Regions from separate parts of the Homo sapiens genome. Here regions 1, 2 and 3 are each linked to region 4. Evidence: promoter capture Hi-C in 16 types of primary human blood cells and fetal thymus (Javierre and others, 2016). All regions are on one chromosome and are shown on one strand. The core of a region is centred on a gene start or on the middle of the fragment in contact, and the rest is flanking DNA. Distances in the headings are between cores, read along the strand shown. Region 1 overlaps RLF (RLF zinc finger). Region 2 overlaps LOC105378671 (a long non-coding RNA gene). Region 3 overlaps RLF (RLF zinc finger). Region 4 holds the start of ZFP69 (ZFP69 zinc finger protein).

What was found. Contacts are between HindIII fragments. The CHiCAGO score rates a contact against its expected background, and 5 or more counts as called.
Region 1: a fragment that was not itself captured here is called in contact with the fragment with the promoter of ZFP69 in region 4 in 6 of 17 cell types (naive CD4 T cells, total CD4 T cells, total B cells and 3 more); the score reaches 8.1 in naive CD4 T cells.
Region 2: a fragment that was not itself captured here is called in contact with the fragment with the promoter of ZFP69 in region 4 in 13 of 17 cell types (naive CD8 T cells, total CD8 T cells, M2 macrophages and 10 more); the score reaches 9.8 in naive CD8 T cells.
Region 3: a fragment that was not itself captured here is called in contact with the fragment with the promoter of ZFP69 in region 4 in 5 of 17 cell types (naive B cells, naive CD8 T cells, total CD4 T cells and 2 more); the score reaches 6.2 in naive B cells.

The regions. Positions count from the first base shown.
Region 1 is chr1:40,207,940-40,213,128 of GRCh38, reverse strand. All of the region lies in intron 5 of RLF (RLF zinc finger), which reads right to left. Among named protein-coding and RNA genes, the nearest start is that of TMCO2, 37 kb to the left of the region's middle. The HindIII fragment of the contact is 168 bases long and covers 2,101-2,268 here.
Region 2 is chr1:40,153,351-40,158,695 of GRCh38, reverse strand. LOC105378671 (a long non-coding RNA gene) reads left to right here. Exons shown (of 3, transcript XR_947232.3): 2 at 851-955. Among named protein-coding and RNA genes, the nearest start is that of RLF, 5.4 kb to the left of the region's middle. RefSeq lists a silencer at 4,842-4,981 and an enhancer at 5,182-5,241. The HindIII fragment of the contact is 1,073 bases long and covers 3,139-4,211 here.
Region 3 is chr1:40,183,695-40,188,897 of GRCh38, reverse strand. The region is part of intron 1 of RLF (RLF zinc finger); the gene reads right to left. Among named protein-coding and RNA genes, the nearest start is that of RLF, 25 kb to the right of the region's middle. RefSeq lists a silencer at 2,163-2,352. The HindIII fragment of the contact is 6,433 bases long and covers 1-5,203 here.
Region 4 is chr1:40,474,995-40,480,344 of GRCh38, reverse strand. It overlaps ZFP69 (ZFP69 zinc finger protein), which reads right to left and starts at 3,055. Exons shown (of 6, transcript NM_001320179.2): 1 at 2,451-3,055; 2 at 857-1,309. The coding sequence starts at 983. RefSeq lists a silencer at 2,847-3,316. The HindIII fragment of the contact is 9,111 bases long and covers 2,368-5,350 here.

The DNA.
Region 1 (5,189 bases), core at 935-3,434, 270 kb after region 4:
CATTAGTGTATTCTGAGTGTATTATCTCATTCCTTGTATGATCACAAGGATAAAGTAGAAGTATTAAGACTTTCAAAATAATCAGGCAATTAAACACCAATGGTCTAACAGGCAGCCAATTAGCATAAAAGAAGGTGGTGGAGGTGGCATATTTTAAACTTAATTAAACCTTTTGTAATTATTCCTTGTTCAGAGTTCATCTTAATCTTGATTCTTACTTAAACTACATCTGGAATTTCTATACTCCTGTTTACTTTTTCTTCTACTCCCAAACTGAATTCCCACTGGGTCCTGTTTAAAGGTATCTGCTCTATCATTTATACCTAGTGACTGTGTCAATTCCCAACAGTGTTAGGCTGGTAAGTAAATTGGATCCTGTTTGTCCTTTCCTTTCCCCATCAGGAAAAGAAACAACCATCTGCTATTGTGTCTATCAACCACGTCAGATACCGAAGATGTAGTTCATTCAGGGATTAAGAATGAAACGGACCCCTGCCTTAACTGCGCCAAGAACTCTGCTGACAGATTTCTTGAGCTCTTTAAAATAGAAGTGCTTGATGTTTAAAATGTTATCTTTTCTATGTTGAAAACCTGATCTTTGCAAAGACTTCCCCTTTCAGTAATGAAAAAATATAGGAAACATCCACTTGGGACACTGAGCCACTGCCAAGTCTATAACTTTTATTAAAATCCTTTAATATGTAAAGTTAATAGCAATGTCATCTCATTCAATTCTACATAAATAAAGTATCACAACCTAAAACTCCAGGATTCCATGAAATTCTTCTGCCTTCCAGACCTACCAGATATCTGAAAGGACTCACTCTTTACCCACTAGGTTCTGAATTTTGACTTTCAGATGACCCAGTCAATTAATCTTAATTGTATGTGTCTGGCTAAATCTTCCCCAGCAGCGGTTTCCCATTACATATGCCTATTATTGGGATACCCCCAGGTACCAACATACAATGTACTTTTATTCCCAGCTGTTGCTCAAGTTAACTCTTCTCCTGAACTCAGGTGAAGTAGATGGCAAATATGTGTGTAACTCTGCTACTTTAGAACGTATGCTGAATTTAAACTCTAATTAATCAACATCTGGTGACTCACTAGTAATTTTCCAAAGCAAACTACAGATTATTTTTAATTCTGTTGACACTTGCAAAAGAAAAGTATCACTAGGATAAGAGACTGACTAGTGGCTGGGCGTGATGGCTCATGCCTTGTAATCCCAGCACTTTGGGAGGCCGAGGCGGGCGGATAACAGGAGGTCAGGAGTTTGAGACCAGCTGGTCACCAGTAGAAACGGTGAAACCCCGTTTCTACTAAAAATACAAAAATTAGCCAGGCGTGGTGGCACGTGCCCGTAATCCCAGCTACTCGGGAGGCTGAAGCAGGAGAATCACTTGAACCCGAGAGGCAGAGGTTGCAGTGAGCCGATATCACGCCATTGCACTCCAGCTTGGGCAACAAGAGTGAAACACCATCTCAAAGAAAAAGAAAGGAAAAAAAAAGACTGACTAGTTATGATGATACGATGATACTAGGGTTCCTTTAAAATAATTTTAAGATAACTTTATGTGTACTAAATGTTTTGCATTGGTATATTTAACAAATTAATCCACATCATGATAAAAATGTTTTAAATCACACCTATATGTATAAATATGAACAGAATGATATATCACCAAGATGTTCCCAATCAGACCATGGCTTATCAATGTCTAACACATGGAAATAGGTGGTAGAGTGGAAAGAAGGCTGACCAAGGAGCCAGGTGACCTGCATTCCAGCTGGGCTTGGCCTTTCTAATTAGCTTAATGCAGGAAGGGCCTTGGAAACATTATCAGCTTGGCTTCAGTTTCATCACGTGTAGAACACGGAGGGTTAGACCAACCGATATTAAACCACTGAAATAGACTGGAAAATTTAATTCTTGTAGAGCAGAGGTTAGCAAATATTTTTCGTACAAGGACAGACAGAAAATATTTTTAGCTTTTCTGGCCAGAGAGTTTCTGTTACAACTACTCACCTCTGCCACTGTAGCACAAAAGCAGCCACAGACAAGAAATGAATGTAAGACTTTGTGCCAGTAAAGCTTTATTTATAAAAACAGGTAGCTGGGTGGGTGCCAACCCCCTGTTGTGAATAGTATCAAATCGTATTTCCTATAACACAGTTCCCTGCAAACTCAACACAATCAGGAAAAATCCTGTTTCCAAACATTGTTATTAATAAACCAGGAAAGATCATGTATAAAACAAAGCTTATCATCTTCCCAGACTCTCCCTTGTCCCTCCACCCATTCTTTCTTCTAATTAGCAGCAGAGCACCACTATTCTTCCAGTCTCCCAAGCTAGAAGCCTTATGAGCCTCTTGAAGGTATCTCTGTACATCCTCCTCTGTTTTTGCCCGGTCAGCAAGTCCTGTCCTTTGTCCTCTTGCTGGCTACAATCTCTTGTCCTAAACATAATACATATTCTTTCTGTCTAGTCTTCCTAAAACACCACTTCAGACATGTCACTTCCTAACTGCAAAGCCTTCTTAATTTCTACTGCATCAAATCTAACCATTAATGCAATGGAGTTTCCAAGCCCTTCTTTTCCAACCCCAACAGGTCTTATTTCTCACAAGACTTCAATAACCACTCTGCCCTAAGCAGGGTATTTATTCTCCAGTGGATCCCTGCAAAGTACTCATTAGTACCTGTGCTTTACTACCATTCAGTCATCTCCAAACCATTCTTTCCACCCATCCAAACCCCACCATTACTTAAAGCTCCAATTCAAGGATCAATTTTTCTATAAACACAGAATTCTCTATCTTTACACTTCTACTGAATTTAGGGCAGTAATCATTGAGCTTAGTACTTCTCTTTCTGTAACTATTTTTGGCAAACAAACTGGGCCATACAGTTTGCTGTATTTGCCAATGCCTAATACAACATTAGAAACAAAACGGGTTTTAATTAAGCAAAGGCTGAGAGAGTAAAGTTGTTATTATTACAGGATGAGGAATCAAACCCAAAATGTAGTGTTTTGCTGCTGCTTTTGAATTGTTTTGGCATGTGTCAGGTGCTGAGAATAACCATTACTACATCTCAGTCTGATTAACTTTCCCAAACATAAAATACTGCAGCTGCTATTAGAGGTAAGCAATCTATCTCCTTACACTACCTGATACTGCAAATAAATAAATTAGCATACAGGTTTATAGTTGGTCTCTTATGATCGCCTTTTTTTTTTTTTTTTAAGACGGAGTCTCGCCCTGTCGCCCCAGCTCGAGTGCAAATGGCACGATCCTGGCTTACTGCAACCTCTGCCTCCTGGGTTCAAGTGATTCTCTTGCCTCAGCCTCCTGAGTAGATGGGATTACAGGCGCACACCACCACACCTGACTAATTTTTTGTATCTTTAGTAGAGACAAGGTTTCACCATGTTAGCCAGGCTGGTCTTGAACTCCTGATCTCATGATCTGCCCGCCTCGGCCTCCCAAAGTGTTGGGATTACAGGCATGAGCCACTCTGTCCAGCCCATATGACTGCTTTTAAAAATGTAGATGAAGTCATAGGAGGCTATCTCTGTGTATACCACATTGTTTCTCTGTGCAAATTCAGGTTTCACCTCTGATCAATCTTGACTTCGACGGATCCTCCCTAGTTCTGCACCCCAGGCTTAAAGAATTCTTATACTAGGGTCTATGTTTGTAAGGTGTCTAAAATATGCCAAGAACTGTGTTAAGTGCTTTAGATATTATCACATTTAAACTATCCAGCCATTTTGTGAGACGGCTACTACTGTTGTGCCTACTTTATAGATAAGGAAAATAAAGCTACCTGGCCAAGGCTGTATGGCTAGTAAATGACAATGTCAAGATTCAAGCCTACATATTTTGATTGTTGCTTTCACTTCTCTAGATGTCTTGTGAAAAACATACTCTACCTAAGCTCCTCAGTAAATCCAGTCCAGTAATGAGCCACCCACAAGCCTCAGAACTTCAAAGTCCCCTCCCATCTTTTCTGAAGTTTCCCCTCTGGGTAAACAAAAGAAATAAAAACTTGCCTGCACAACAAGTCTACTTTAAGAACCAGAATCCAGAAAGAACCAGAAGGTTGGCAGTGACAGTGAGTTGGATCATGTACATGAGATGTGTGAGTGTCAGATTAATATGTATAAAAGCAAAGCAGAGGCAGATCACCTTGGATTTAAACCCTGGGCACACCACTTACTGGACATCTTACTACTATGCGCCAGTAATATCATCTCTCAGAGCCTCAGTTAATTTCTATAAAATTCAAAGTTTTTTTGTTTTTGAGACAGGGTCTTACTCTGTCATCTAGGCTGCAGTGCAGTGGTGTGATCTCAGCTCACTGCAACCTGCACCTCCAGAGCTCAAGCAATCCTCCCACCTCAGCCTCCCGAGTAGCTGGGACTACGGCACATGCCACCACGCCCAGCTAAGTTCTGCATTTTTTTTTGTAGAGATGGGGTTTCACCATGTTGCCCAGGCTGGTCTTGAACTCTTGGCCTCAAGCAATCTTCCCTCCTCAGCATCCCAAAGTGCTGGGATTACAGTCATGAGCCACCACACCTGGCCTAAATTAATAGATTTTTATAAGGATTAGATACCGACACATTTAAAGCACACAGCACAGTGCTTGGAATAGACAAGTGAGCAATAAATGTTTTCTGCAGTTATATTTAAGATTCAAGTAGAAAGTCTGAAAAGACAGGCAGTGCAAAGCATTTTATCCTTTGATTTCTTTATCACCAGAAAGTCTAACAAATAAGAACATTTATTAATGAGGCCCTAGGTCATAGCTTCAATCCCCATTTGAGGAAACTACATGTTGTCCACTTCATAGCCACCAACTGGCTGTTTCATCTCTGCATCCCGTATCTGTGCTCCTGTGTAAGGTCATTCCCCAAAACAAAGATGACTAGCATTCTGTCTCTATCTATACTTTCCCTGCCTAGACAATCCTCTCAGATTCAAGTTACTACTAAATCTCAAAGACCAGGCCACAGTGCTTCCAAGTGGAATGTTGCTAACCCAATATCCATCCCAGAATAAAGTCTGTGAGCACTTGAAAAAATACGTTAGTTGATAGAAATGCAAAGACTACTAGGAGCCAGGACAGAATCACAAATTCCTGGAGTCAGTATTTTGGCCACTGGGAAGTATCTTAG
Region 2 (5,345 bases), core at 2,426-4,925, 320 kb after region 4:
CTGAAATATACAGCCAAAAAACATATGAAAACTGCATATATCAACATAATAGGCATAAAGCATGATAAAAAAACAAATCGCAAGGGATATTTAACGTATTATTCTATACTGTAAATTTTGAAAACATAGAAAACAAATGCTCAAGTAACAAAATATTAAAACTAGGGATATTATAGGCATGGCATATATCACCTTTAGAATGGTAGGTAGTTCTTCTGGGGAAAGAGGAAGGGAAGGAGGTATAAGGAGCATTCACTGTATCTGTAATGTTTTACTTATTTTTTAATGTGAAGCAAATATTCAATTATACCAGATGCATTGAGCATATATTATGTGTTAGGCACTTTTTCAGGTAATAGAGATTCAGAAAAGACATGTAGTTTACATTTTAATGGTACATGTAGCTAAGTATTAATTAAAGTATTAGATCTGGCTCTATAATCTATAATATTATTATATATTATTATATAATATCTATAATATTATTCCCTATTGGCTGGGCTCGGTAGCTCACTCCTGTAATCCCAGCACTTTGGGAGGCCGAGGCAGGCAGATCACGAGGTCAGGAGATCGAGACCATCCTGACTAACACGGTGAAACCCCGTCTCTACTAAAAAAATACAAAAAATTAGTCGGGCGTGGTGGCGGGCGCCTGTAGTCCCAGCTACTCAGGAGGCTGAGGAAGGAGAATGGCGTGAAGGGAGGCAGAGGTTGCAGTGAGCCGAGATTGCGCCACTGCACTCCAGCCTGGGCGACAGAGCAAGACTCTGTCTCAAAAAAAGTATATATATGTATATATATATAAATATTATTCTCTATTTTTTTATATCTTTGTAATACAAATAATTAGGTTTAGGCCAGCATGTCTGGAGTATGGTGCAAGAGAGAGAAAGAAGTGAAGATGAGATTGGAGAAGGAGCAAAGAGCCAGGTCATGTAGGACAGTATAGCTCAAGGTAAGCAGTGGGGATTTGAAGTGTACTGAGTAATCATTGTTTTACTGAGTAATCAAAGCTTTAAGTGGAGGTGTAACTTTGTCTGGTTTACACTCTTGCTGCCATGTGAGAATAGGTGGTGAGAGGCGAGAATGAAAGCAGGGAACCTATTGTAGTACTCCAGATGATCAAGTTAGAGATGTATTTTGGAAGTAGAACTAACAGGCTGATGCACTGTTTTTGAGGAAATTGAAATAATCTGGAATGGCTACATGGCTTTTGGTTTGAATGGTGGGCAATGATGTTTATTGAGAAAAGGAAGGCTTAGGAAAGAACAGACTGGGGATAGAGTGAGGGAGAATCAAGAGTTCTATTTGGAACAGGTTAAGTTTGATTTTCCTGTGAGTTCCTATGAGACATTTAAATGGAGATGCCAGATAGGCACTTGTATGTGTGACTGTGGAGCTTCAGCTGAAGATGTGGGGCCATCAGCTGTTCCACCTCTGTTAGGCAAAAAGAAAAATAAATCTCTAGTGACTCCACCACATCTTCATCTAGCTTCCATCCCACTTCTTTGCTTCCTTTTATAGAAAAACTTCTCTAAAGAGCTGGCCAGACCTTCTGTTTCTACTTACCCTCTTCTCATTCTTACTTGAACTCTTCTCAGTCAGGTTTTATCCCCACCAGTCAATGAAACAGCTCATTTTAACACCACCAGTGAGTTCTACTTTTGTGTGTGTCCAAAGGTGAATTATCAGTCCTTGTTTAGTCAATCTCTTAGCAGTATTTGGCATTGTCGATAATTCCCCAACATTTAATTTCACTTGGATTCCAAGTCTGCACATTCTCCTGGTGTTTTTTTTCTTGATTTCTTTTCTTTTATTCTCTCTTTTCTTTGTGATTTCTAAGTGTCCCAGGCATAGTCTGTCAACTTCTTTTCTATCTACACTCACTGCTACACTCACCCAGTTCTAATACATGTATGTGCTTATGACAATACCACCCTAAGTCCAGGCAACAAGGGCCCTGCCCTGGGTCCCACACTTTAGAGGACTACACAAACCTCTCTCTCTCTTTCTTACACACACACACATGCACACACACACACACACACACAGTAACTATATTAAAGAACACATGGGCACCCCTATCATTTGAAATCCAGCACTCAGCACAAGTACAATCTTAAATATTTGCTTTCTTGAGGCAGGGTCTCACTCTGTCACCCATGCTGAAATGCAGTGGTATGATCACAGCTCACTGCAGCCTTGGCCTTCCTGGACTCAAGCAAGCCTCTCACGTCAGTCTCTTGAGTAGCTGAGACTACAGAAATGCAACAACAAGCCTAGCTTTTTTCCATTTCTATTCTTTTCTTTCTTCCTTTGTTTCTTTGTTTCTTTCTTTCTTTCCTTCTTTCTTCTTCTTCTTCTTTTTTTTTTTTTTTGACGGAGTTTCCCCTTTGTCACTAGACTGGAGTGCAGTGGGGTGATCTCAACTCACTAGAATTTCTGCCTCCTGGGTTCAAGAGATTCTTCTGCCTCAGTCTCCTGAGTATCTGGGATTGCAGGTGTGCATCACCACACCCGGATAAATATTTGCTTTCTTTACCACTACTATTCAGGCTTTAGGGAACCTCTTTATCACGTCTCTTGCTCCATATACTCAAAGCTGAAAGGCACCAAAAGAATTGAAACCAGAGACATGAACAAATATTTGTACATTTGTGTTCACAACACTGTTATTCATAATAACCAAACGATAAAAATGACCCAAATGTCCATGAATGAATGAATAAATAAATGAATGTGGTATAGACATGCAATGGAATGTTATTCAACCTTAAAAAGGAAAGAAATTCATTCCTGAAAAAACAGGGGGAGGGAGGAAATTCTGACACGTGCTACAACATGGATAAATGTTGATTATGCTAAGTGAAACAAGCATCATAAAAAGACAAATGTTGTATGAGTCCACTTATATGAGGTATATAGAGTAGTCAAATTCATAGAGTAAGAAAGAATAATGGTGGTTGCCAGGGGCTGGGGGAGAGAGAGGCCAGCAGAGTTATTGTTTAATGGATGTAGAATTTCAGTTTGGGAAGATGAAAAAGTTACGGTGATGGAGGGTGGTGATGCTTGCACAACAATGTGAATGTACTTAATGCCACTGAACTATACACTTAAAAATGGATAAAATGATAAGCTTTACCTTATGCATATTTTACCACCATTAAAAAAATGAAAGACAACTGCATCCTAATGTCTTGAAGGTTTTGGGTTGTGCTACTTAAGAGAAATAGGCACACTGTTTTTGAAATGCTACGTAGAGTGTGTTCGAGCTACAGAAGCACTTGGGTAAGAGAAAACACAAATTAGCTTGTCATACTCTTCCTCTTAGATAGCATAAATGCATTTTCTTGCATAACCATGTATTGTTTCTTGGTAGTGGCAGATGTTCCTTTTTTTAATTGTCTCCATACACACATATGCGTATACACTGATATATACATGTATCTGTCTAGATGTAACATGAGTAGAGAGTAAGACTGAACATTTACATAATCATAAATAGACAATGAATATTAGCATTGGGAATAACTATTTGTACAAAAATATTTAATAAGACTGAATTGTTTTTTAAATGAAATTTACAATTCTAGCATTATTTACTTAATTTTAATTTAAAATTGTGAAAGAAAATAGTCTATTTTGAGCTTCTAAAAGTTGTTAGGCCCTAAGCAAGGTTGACTTTGGAGACTGAGTCACAAAGCATGACCTCTTGTTTACTGGCATTTTTGTTTTTTTGTTTTTGTTTTTTTTGACACAAGGTCTTACTTTGTCACCCAGTCTGGAGTGCAGTGATCTCAGCTCACTGCAACCTCAACTTCTTGGTTCAAGAGATCCTTCTGCCTCAGCCCCTCAAGTAGCTGGAACTACAGGCACATGCCACCACACCAAGCTAATTTTTGCATTTTTTATAGAGATGGGGTTGCTGGTCTCAAACTCCTGGACTCAAATGATCTGTCCATCTCAGCCTTTCAAAGCCCTGGGATTACAAGCGTGAGCCACTGTGCGTGGCGGCCTTTTGTTATAGATTAACTTCCTTCCTATTTTCTTTTACTTGGCTCAAACAAGAAAAAAAGACCCCTTGACTATTACATCCTTAATGTGAAATGTGAAATATACCCTTCCCCCAAAAGAAACACTGCATATAATCAATCAAATTGCTGTATCTATGCATTAATCTTGTATGCAAAATGTTGAAATCCTGGTAAGCTTCCCCAGACTTTACCTATTTAAGCACCCTCAAACCTCTCCATTTCAGAGCACTGACCCCATCTTTTTGGAGTCTATATCCTCTCAGATGGCCACCCTCAAATTTACACTCGAATAAACTCAATATTTAATACTGTTGCCTGAATTTCATTATTAAGGTTGACATTTTGGCGACCATGAAGGGACCTAAGGCAAACCTTCATTCCAGTGATTCCTGTCATTTCACTAACAGCCAAAATCTTGGTACCAGCATGAACAACTTTTGTTCATCCACCCTCAAAAGAACTAATGGGGATCCCTGGTAAGGCTCCTCTCAGGTTGTAGTCCTCTTGGCTTTGATGAGGATTCAGACTTTATTCCAGCTATACACTTCTAACTGGAGGAAGTAAGAATTAAAGCTCTGCTGCAAGATAGGAGTTTCATTTGTTATTCTGTAGAGATTCTGCTGATCATAGATTTGTGACTTTCAGTCGGGTGCAGTGGCTCACACCTGTAATCTCAGCACTTTGGGAGGCCGAGGTGGGTGGATCACTTGAGGTTGGGAGTTCGAGACCAGCCTGGCCAACATGGTGAAACCCCGTTTCTACTAAAAACACAAAAATTAACTGGGCGTGGTGGCACATGCCTGTAGTGCCAGCTACTCAGGAGGCTGAAGCAGGAGAATCACTTAAACCCAAGAGGCAGAGGTTGCAGTGAGCCGAGATCACACTACTGTATTCCAGCCTGGGTGACAGAGCAAGACTATGTCTCAAAAAAAAAAAAAATTGTGACTTTCACTTTTCTGTGAGGTTAAGGTTTTTGTTTTGAATTACTCCTTAGAGTTTTTACAACTTTTTCTCTCATTCAAAATGTTGATAAGGTGAAAAACAGTTTATTTTTAAAAAGAGGAAGTAAATCTTTGTGGTTTAAGCAAAAATGTTATAATATTTAAAGCTAGCCAGGTTCTGAGGCTTGGTTCAATTGACAAATTCAAGCTTGCTTCTTGAGTGACCAAAATTATGAAATACTCTGTATAAGGATGAAATAAGTCCTGAAGATAATAGACACTGTTTCTCCCAGCTAAAAGTCACCTTAAGCAACTAAGGTCTAGTGTGAGTATCTGAGTTAATCACTCCTGATAAGTAACAGTCTCACAG
Region 3 (5,203 bases), core at 1,962-4,461, 290 kb after region 4:
TTCATCACTTAATGAATGATTTCTGCTGAGTTAAAGAAATGGCAGAACTACTCTTTTGATGTCAGAATAATTCTAAGAGTAGAGCCATAAAATGTCTAGTTGTTCTCACTATAGGTCTGGAGTTGCCATCTCTATAATTCAATAATGAGTTTTCAACCATGTGCCAAGCACTGGGTACATAAGAATAAGACTATGATCCCTGCCTTCTACAACAAGAGATGAATTATTCCTGAATATGACTCTCAGTTCTACAGCACCATAAAATCCTTTTTTTTTTTTCTGGACACATGGAATTGATTAGGCTTCCAAGGGTTAATTTATGCTAACTAATTTCTAAAAGGTTAATGTTATATTGATATTTTTATTTTTCACTAGCCCTGTATCCTCAACAAAATATATATTTATTTTTTATAAAGTTTATGAAGAAAATTACCATATAGGCCAAATGCCAGTTTATTTGGTTACAATGGGGGGAATAGTCCTCTTACCACACAGGGTACCCTATTCCTCATACTGTGGCATCTGAGAAGTTATCTGGTGAGTATTGAATCTAAACCAAAAGAAAATGAAACCACAATAAAGCCTGATAAATTATATGTGTCCTATCACTAAAAATTTGTCCAAATGATGGTGGAAAGCTGGCTTATGTTCTCCCTGGACAGTGTTGAAAAATCACTGCCAAATTCATGTTTGGGGACTCTCCTTCTGAGTTCCATGGAGTTGTTTTCTCTCTTGTTCATATATATCTTCCTTCTGACAACTGATTAGGTTTTGCCTATTCTTAATTGGTATATCTAGTTAAGACGTGAAGTATGTAGTACAGTCTAACATAAGCAGGATACAGCCTTCTCCCTGGAATACACATTCTGTCTGACTGGGCTAGGGAGTTCCTAATAGGCTTTTGGTTGGGGATACTTCTATAGGCAAGTCTTATTTTCAGAGGATAGCTTTAACATGAGTGAAATACATCTTATCTGAATTCATTACCCTAGAATAATGTCTTCAAACATTCCTAACTTCCTGTCTTTGATTTTTCTGCCTAAACAACTACAAATAACTACAATAGTAGCGCAGGATTCTGCTGGATTTTCTGCAGCTTTAGTTTCCACACAAATGGTCCCTGTATGAGTTCTGGTAACTGACTGTTAGCATCATCTTGATTACTTTAACATTTAAAAAAAGAGAGAGAGAGAAACAACTTACAAGGAAATATACCATAGACCATTATACCATATACAGTAAAAGTTCCCTTAACTAATATATTGCATTATCTGATCTTTGCATACCTGAATCATTACAGTCAGTTGAGCTATTTTTAGTATACCGACCTACTCAATTAAGTATCTTGCTACTTGGTCACAGTCACTTTAGATAAATGCCCTTCTGTAATTTCAGAAAAGCAACATGTCACCACTTAATCAAATCCCTAATTTTAATAAAATAAAAAAACTGAGTAACATTATAAAACTGACCCCTAAGCAATCCTGCTTCCCAGCTGAATTAGTAGAGAAAGAATGCAGAATGGGTGTCTGTTACATAACTAAGATTTCACCTAATTTATTAAAATCAGCCAGGTGCTGTGGCTCACGCCTGTAATCCCAGCACTTTGGGAGGCCGAGGCGGACGGATCACAAAGTCAAGAGATCGAGACCATCCTGGCCAACATGGGTGAAACCCCGTCTCTAAAAATACAAATATTAGAGATGGGCGTGGTGGCGCGCGCTTGTAGTCCCAGCTGCTCAGGAGGCTGAGGCAGGAAAATCGCTTGAACCTGGGAGGCGGAGGTTGCAGTGAGCCAAGATTGCGCCACTGCACTCCAGCCTGGCGACACAGCAAGACTGTCTCAAAAAAAAAAACCAAAAAACAAAAAACAAAGAAATTTATTAAAATCTATGTTACAAAAAAATTCTGGTTTAGGTCAGTAAGTTACTTACTGTCTGCATTGGCTAATCTAAGAATTAAGGAGTTTCAAAAATTTATATTTAGTGCCAGATTTATGTTCCTTAAAGTCAGACATTATGTCTCATCAATCCTTATAGGCCTACCACTCCTCTACCCACTTCCACCCCCACAGGACATTCTCAAGTCTCACTAAATGTCTGCTGAATACATTCACCATTTTATTCATTTGACAAATATTTTTCAATAGATTATCACACATAAAGTGCTAGATGCAGTGGGGGCGGGCAGACATGTGGCCTATCCTCACAGAGCTTTCAGAATGAGTCAATACAACATGATGGCTGAAACCACACATGCAAATTAACCAACTGCTAACTAAAGTATGCAAAGAGAAGGACAGAGTGCATACAGATGGGGTTAGTCTTTCCACAATCCACCTGTCCACTTAGAACGCTCTTGCCACCAATCTAATAGCTTCTGACAGACATTCCACCAGGACTTCTGTAAGCTACACAATTTCAAAGATTCAATACTCTTGAGGAACTTCCAGTTTGCTCTATACTAATTTATACTTTTTATATTCCTAAATCTTTACCCCCTCATGTGTTGGTTCAAATTAAGTAGTGAGATCTCTTATACCCACTATAAGCATACTCTGGGTATGTGAAGAATGGCTGGAATAATCAATCTTCTTCATTATCACTTTTTTTTTAAATTGAGATAGAGTCTCATTCTATCACTGCTGGTGATCCTCCCACTTCAGCCTCCCAAGTAGCTGGGACTACAGGCATGAACCACTGTGGCTAGCCAGGCATTTTCTTTCTTTCTTTTTGTTTTTTTAATCAAGTCTCACTCTGTCACCCAGGTTGGGGTGCGGTGGTGAAATCTCGGCTCACTGCAACCTTCACCTCCCAGATTCAAGTGGATCCTTTCACCTCAGGCTCCTGAGTAGCTGGGATTACAACTGTGCGCCACCAGGCTCGGTTAATTTTCCTGTTTTTAGTAGAGATGGGGTTTCACCATTTTGGCCAGGCTGGTCTCGAACTCTTGACCTCAAGTGATCCGCCTGCCTTGGCCTCCCCAAGTGCTGGGATTACAGGCAAAAGCCACCTCGCATCCAGCCTTTGTGGTTTTTTTTTTTTTTTTTTTTTTGCTTTTTTTTTTTTTTTGAGACAGTCTCACTCTGTCAGCCCAGGCTAGAGTGCAGTGGCACGATCTTGGCTCACTGCAAGCTCCACCTCCCAGGTTCACGCCATTCTCCTGCCTCAGCCTCCCAAGTAGCTGGGACTACAGGCACCCGCCACCATGCCCGGCTAATTTTTTTTTTTTTTTTTTTTTTGTATTTTTAGTAGAGACGGGGTTTCACCGTGTTAGCCAGGATGGTCTCGAGCTCCTGACCTCGTGACCTGCCCGCCTCGGCCTCCCAAAGTGCTGGGAGCCACTGCGCCCGGCTTTTTTTTTTTTTTTTTTTTTTTTTTAATGCAAGATTAGGTTGAAAGGATTACAGCCATCCAAATAACAGGATGGCTGTAATCCTTTCAACCTAATCTTGCATTTAAAAAACTGGACTAGGCAAGGTGGCTCACGCCTGTAATCCCAGCACTTTGGGAGGCCGAGGCAGGTGTATCACTTGAGGTCAGGAGTTCAGACCAGCCTGGCCAACATGGTGAAACCCTGTCTCTACTAAAAATACAGAAAGTAGCCGGGCGTGGTGGCGCATGCCTCTAGTCCCAGCTACTTGGGAGGCTGAGGCTGGAGAATTGCTTGAACCCGGCTAGAGTTCAGTGGTTCAATCACAGCTCACTATAACCTCAAACTCCTAGGCTCAAGTGATCCTCTCTCCCACCCACCTCAGCCTCCTGAGTAGCTAGGACTGGAGAAGTGCATCACCATGCCCAGCCAATTAAAAAAAACTTTTTTTTTGTAGGGACAGGGTCTCTTTGCTGCCCAGTCTGGTCTCAAATTCCTGGGCCTCAAGTGGTCCTCCCACCTTGGCCTCTCAAAGTGCTGGGATTACAGGTGTGAGCCACTGTACCCAGCCACGGTCTCTTATTTTTCTTTAGGAACTGAAATCACAACTGAAGAGAAAAGGGGCAATAAATGATAAAGATGACCTCCTAAAGTTCATTCTACAGTGACCAAATTAATGACCTCTCTCTTTTGTTTCAGTAAACTCATTCCACAAATACCTACTATTTTGTACTGTGCTGGGAAGTAAGGATGGAGACTCTATTCCTGCCCTTGAAAGGCTATGATATATACTAAGGGGTCAGATATATAAGTAAAAAATTAGCTCACTTACGCACCATATTTGACTATTCGGTGCTCTCATTCACATCCCAAGCAGATTACCCTCAAATTACTCTCTCAAGTCCTTGCTATATACCTCAACTGCCTATTACATATTTCCATCTGGATGTCCTATTCAAATCTCAAACTCAGCATGTCCAAAACCAAACATCTTCCCCAGCAAATATGCTCTTCCTCCTATGTTCCATCTGCCTCCTTTCAGGAGCCAGAGCTAAAAAACTATCTTTGAAACCACCACACCAAAGTTTGTTGATTCTATCTCAGAAATATCTTTGTCTCCTGTCCCTATGCTTTATCTCTGTAGCCATTCACCTAAACCAGGCCCCCAATATCCCTCATCTAGACTGCTACATTGGTTCACTTCTCTAGGCTAAATAACCTCTAGTTCTGTATATGTGTTATAATCACGTATGTCTGTACATTGAAAAAATTAATGTCCAAGGGGAAAATGACTAGAAGAAATTAACTAAAATGCTTACATGGTTAGCACTGAGGTAGCAGGAATATGAGCAATTTTTGTCATCTTTATACTTTTCTAAACTTCTCAAATTTTCTTTAATAAGCATGACTACATTTTCAAAGCAAAAAAAATCTCCCCTCACCCTTAATTCTCTCTACATTTCTCACTACATGGTTTCAAGGAGCTTGGCAGCATTCTGACTATTCCTTGAAACTATCAAGAAAGGAGAATTTCTTTCAGGATGGTCACATTTAATGTTTAAAGAATACATTCCAATTTAAATTTCACATAGTTCAGGATTAACTTTCCTAATGAAATAATTATATTTACTGAGCACATAGTATGGGTTAGGCACTTCCTAAGAGCTTTACGGCCACTAAACTTATTTAATATGCACAACTCCATGAGCTAGGAGTTATTATCAGCCCATTTCAAAAATGAGGAGCCACTGTCAAGTTGTCTTTTGGGAATTTTTTTTTTTTTTAAATGAGGAAACATGAGAGATTGAATTATTTGGGCAAAGTCATCCAA
Region 4 (5,350 bases), core at 1,806-4,305:
GCAGTGAGCTGAGATTGCACCACTGCACTCCAGCCTGGGCGACACAGCGAGACTCCATCACCAAAAAAAAAAAAAAATCACAACCAGAACAAAGTTTTCCGTCGCTTGTGTTCCAAAATAACTTTTCTTAGGCTGCTTTCTATTATTTTGATTGAGGTGTATGCCTATCTCAATCCATTGGTAATCAGAATTAGAGATAATTATTCATTTTTCCATCTTTTAAGATGTTTAGCCAAAGTCCCTGCCTGACACAGCTAGAACAATAAATACTGGCTGAGTGTAAAGCATTAAAGGTATGAATTAAAACACCACATGAGACACATGACTTCCTCCATCCTTCTATTTACTCCTAACCAGACCACTAAATAAGGTGTGATTGTTGGGCATCTCTCCCACAGTTCAAGGTAACATGAGAGTAATCTGGCATGTCATTCCTGCCTCTCAGCAGATGAAAAGAAAAAACTGATACTTGTGATAAATATTGGGTTGGGGCTAAAATGACTGGAACCTGTGCAGGAAAACCCTTAGAGGACTTAAGGAGGGCAGAAATCTTAGACCTGTCTGTGAATCACATTCCCACACTCAGGCACCACTGGTGGGGAACACCTTGTATTCTGTCTTCCTGCTACATGTAGTATTTGAAGATGGGAGATGAGAGCAGCTGCAAGCACGTGTCACAAGGAGTCCATGCTGGACCCCAAGATTTTCCCTCACAGCTGTCCCCTTCCCAAAAACCACAAGAATGAACCCCCAGAGACCTTCTCTCCCTCCTTCTCTCCACTTCAATGAAGTGTGTACCTATCTTTTCACACACAAATGAGATCCCCTTCTTCCCCCTCCATCAGTCCATTCTCACCTTCTCCTTCAAACATTTTAGTCACATCCTCCCACAGGGGCGCCCCCTCCACGGCCTTCTTTGGATGTTGCAGCTTCACCCAGGTGCTGGCCTCGGTAGGCAGGGTGATCAGGAGCTGCTGTGGCATGATGCCTGCCTTACTGGACTTGTCCACTTCTGGTGAGGAAATTGCCAGAAGCTCTTGATGAGACGCTTCACAGTTGTGGGGTGTTGCTCAGATTCCAATCACCTGCCCTCAGGACTCTGGTGTGTCCCTGCAGCACCAGGACCTGGGGGTTCCTAGAGACTGATGTGACTTTAACAATTCTGGAAAACAAACTCCCCTTTAAATCAAGCACTTTCTTTGGGAGGCAGCCAGTTAGTTAGGTTTGAGTTCATGTCTCCATACTCTTTAGAGGAGCAAAAGGGAAGGGAAGAGGGATCCAGAAGCACTTGTCTCCAGAACTCCAGAATCTGCAGAAATATATTTAAAACTGCAAAATACCCAAAAGAAAAATATCCATGCAGGAATAAATATAATACATGTTCCTGGACGTGGCTCTATCTCCAGTTCTATACATACATACACAAACATGCAAAGATGTACAAACATGCACAGACCATGCCTCATCTTCCCTCCTTGTAAGCTGCATGCATCTTCTGCCTGGACACAGACGGGGTTTAAGAGGGCAGGCTTTGAAATCAGACAGCCTGGCTTAGAAACCTGACACTTGCACTTAAAAGCTCTATGACACTTCAACTCTCAGCTTCAGTTTCTTAATCTATAAAATGGAGATAATAATTGTATTCTATAGAGTTGTAATGTTGGTTGAGACAATGCTAGGCATACAGTAAACCCTTAATGAACATTGTTATAAACCTGTTATCATATTGCTGAATCATAGTATTAATTTTTAAAGTTATTTTTAGAAACCATTAAATCTGAATTTAAAGTTCAAAATATCTCAACTGACAGAATAATGACATAGCTGCATTTTGGCATGAACAAGCAGTGACAGCCACGTCACCACCCACGCAGATGCCCAGCAGCTGGCAAGTTCCTTGGAACCACACTGGGAAGATGCATCTTGGTTTCAGAAATGTTAAAATTGGGGAAGAGGGTATGTCTTCAAATGGTGTAAATTTAGTATAATGAGGACTACTGCAGAATAGTAATAGGCAAATTTGGAAACAACTCAAATCCATCATCTCAACCAAACCCTAGAATCTGAGCAGGTGCTTTGACCGTGACCAGGTCCAAAGTATACGGCACTCCAAGAACAGTCGGAGCTACGTGGGAAGGGAGCTGGCCCAACTTTTTGAAGTTTGTTGGAGAAGGATGGGTATGTGACTTATAGGCGTGTGTGTGTGTGTGTGTGTGTGTGTGACTATATGCAGAGACAGGAGCTGCGTGTGTTCTAGGAATTGGAGCTTGTGAGAAATATCCCACCCCTGAATACATAAAAAGTCTTGTTACCAAAGTGCACGAATTTTCGAATCTTACTCGGGAAACAGTTAATGGCTGAGAAGCTTCATATCGAAGATGCCCCACCCTCACAGTGCTCCCAGACATGCCACCCTCGGACTCAAAGACTGCACACAGACTCCTACTCACCACATCGGCCTTGGACCCAGGTAGGACCAGAGACGGGGGCGTGGGAGTGCTCACTCTTGAGGTTTTCAGCGGTAAAGAGTGTCTCTTTAGAGACGGACTGAGTGGTAACAGATATTGTTCCCTCCCGGCCTTTTATAGACAGACCACATCTCCACTCAACGCAATCATTCTCCAAGAAGCGTCCAGCGTTGAGGTCGGCTTCCTTCGGAAGCCCGGAGGACCCTCGGCCTCCGGAGTGGACGAGGGTCTGCTCCACATTCCCATCAAGGGCCCGCCCAGGCGGGTGGGCTTTCCCAGCAGCGCCCCCAGGAGCGAGGCTTTGAGGGCCGGAATGGGAGGGATGCCCTGAGCCGGCGTCTTGCAGACCCCGGGGAGGATACACCTCCCTGGCTGCCGCTTTAACACGGGGCTGGCGGCTGCAGCCAAGCCCACCCAGCCTGGCCTCTTAGGCCGCAGCCGGGTGTCTCGCCTGGCCTCTGCCTCCGGCCGCGCCCTCCCGGCCGCTTGCACCGCCGGCCGCTCTCGCTGCAGCCCTGGCGGTCCCGGGGCCCACCCCACGCGGTCCCGCTGCAGCTGCCACAACCCGCGCGTCTTCCGGCGGGTTGTGAGCCCCGGCCGCCGGCTCCGCCCACAGGGGGCTGCCACGGAGCCCGCCCTCTCCCGGGAAGCAGCGCGCGCCCTCGAACCCGGAAGCTGGAAGCCGCCCGAGCGCGCCCCCGAGGGCCGTCCGGAACCGTGGGTAGCGGCCACCCACCCACGCCGCCCCCCGTTTCCTCACAGCGGTCCTTGGGAGACCTCCTTCAGCCTTTCCGGTGAAGCGCCTTCCCTGTCATTCATTCATTCACTCATTCATTCATTCATTCATTCAGTTATCTATTCTGAGTGTGTAAGATCTACCCCCACATTCTTATTGGCCCTGCGTATACAGCAGTTAACAAAACGCAGTTCCTGCTTTCTTGGAACTTAATTACATTGAAATTAATTGACAATAACAAATAGAAAAATAAATAGATAATACCCCAGGCGATTGTGAGGACCATGAAGAAAAGGAAAGCAGGGTGGGGAGATGATGGGCTAGGATATTTGTATCAACCCACTGTAGAAAACAACAATAAAATTTAAAAATAAAATTCTGGAATACGTGTGTGTGTGTGTGTGTGTGTATGTGTATATATATATACATATATATATAATATATAAATTTGTTTTTGAGACGGAGTTTCGCTCTTGTTGCCCAAGCTGGAGTGCAGTGGCGCGATGTTGGCTCACCGCAACCTCTGCCTCCCGGGTTCAAGTGATTCTCCTGCCTCAGCCTCCAGAGTAGCTGGGATTACAGGCACGCATCACCATGCCTGTAATTTTGTATTTTTAGTAGAGATGGGGTTTCTCCATGCCTGAGCGACAAGAGCAAAACTCCATCTCAAAAAAAAAAAAAAAAGAAGAAGAAGAAGAAGACCCTCCTTACAATAACTGGGACCCCAAAGGGCAACAGCCTCAGGGTGAGGATGAATTGAAAATGGAACAGCTTAAAAGGAATTTACAGACTGCATCAAATTGCCTGTCTCAGACATTATCTTGGTTTAAGACTGTCTCTGACTATGGTGTCACCAGATGCTTGGCAAAAGCAAATAGGTGGAGGAAAGCCTTATAATTGTAGGGCCGACATTTTTCCTACACATAAGTTTTCATAGACAATGTCAAATACAGAATTAAAGATAACCAGGTACACAAAGAAACTAGATTCTTAGTGAGAACCAGCAGAAACACAAACATTGGAAATAGACCTGCAGAAACAACTGCTTTTAGAATTATTTGATGCAAACCGCAAAATAATATTTTCTTGGGCTGGACACAGTGGTTTATGTCTATAATCCCAGCACTTTGGGAGGCCAAGGCAGGTGGATTGCTTGAGCTCGGGAGTTCAAGACCAGCCTGGGCAACATGGCAAAACCCTGTCTCTACAAAATATCAAAAATTAGCCAGGTATGGTGGCACAGCCCTGAAGTCCCAGCTCTTCAAGAGGCTGAGATGGGAGGATCGCTTGAGCCCAGCAGGTTGATGCTGCAGTAAGTCACGATCATACCACTGCCCTTCAGCCTGGGTGACAGAGCAAGACCCTGGCTTAAAACATATGTATATTTTCTTGCTTACCTATTAGAGTTTTTAGGAAAAAAAGTAAAATAAAATCATATTTTCTTTGCCTGAAGAAATAAAAAAGATAACTTGGACAATTTTGGCAGGTACCTAAAAACTATACAAAGTGATAGAGCAGATTTAAAAAAAGAAGTAAATAGACTTCTCTTCTATGATTGAGAAATACAGTAACTAAATTAAGAACTCAGTTAATGGCAGATTAGACACTGCTGAATGTAGAATAAATTGAAAGGAAGGTAGGTCACAAGAAATTATCTAGAATAAAGCATTGAGAAACAAAAAATGTACCCTACAGAAGACAGAGTAAGAGAGATAGAGAATACAGTAAGAGGATCGAACTAAGTTTAACGAGAGATAAAGCTAGGGCAGAGACAGTATTTGAAGAAATAAGGGCTGAATATTTTTAGTACCTATGAAAGGAACCAGGTCACAGATATAAGATGCCATATAACTCTCTAGTGGGATAAATAAAAGAAACCCTTTTATTTATCTAGTCAAAGAAATCTACACCTAGTAGAAGAAATCCACGCATTATAGTAAAACTACAAATTGTTATAGAACCAAACTGGGGTCCACTTGCCTGGTGCAGTAAAAACAGAACAAAGTAAAAAACATGACTAAATCTAAATGAACATAAATAATAGACTAAAAATCTCAATAATCCACAATAATCCATGAGGTTTAAAAAATAGATATAGCATATTGAGTATATGTATGTGTGTGTGTGTGTGTGTGTGTGTGTGTGT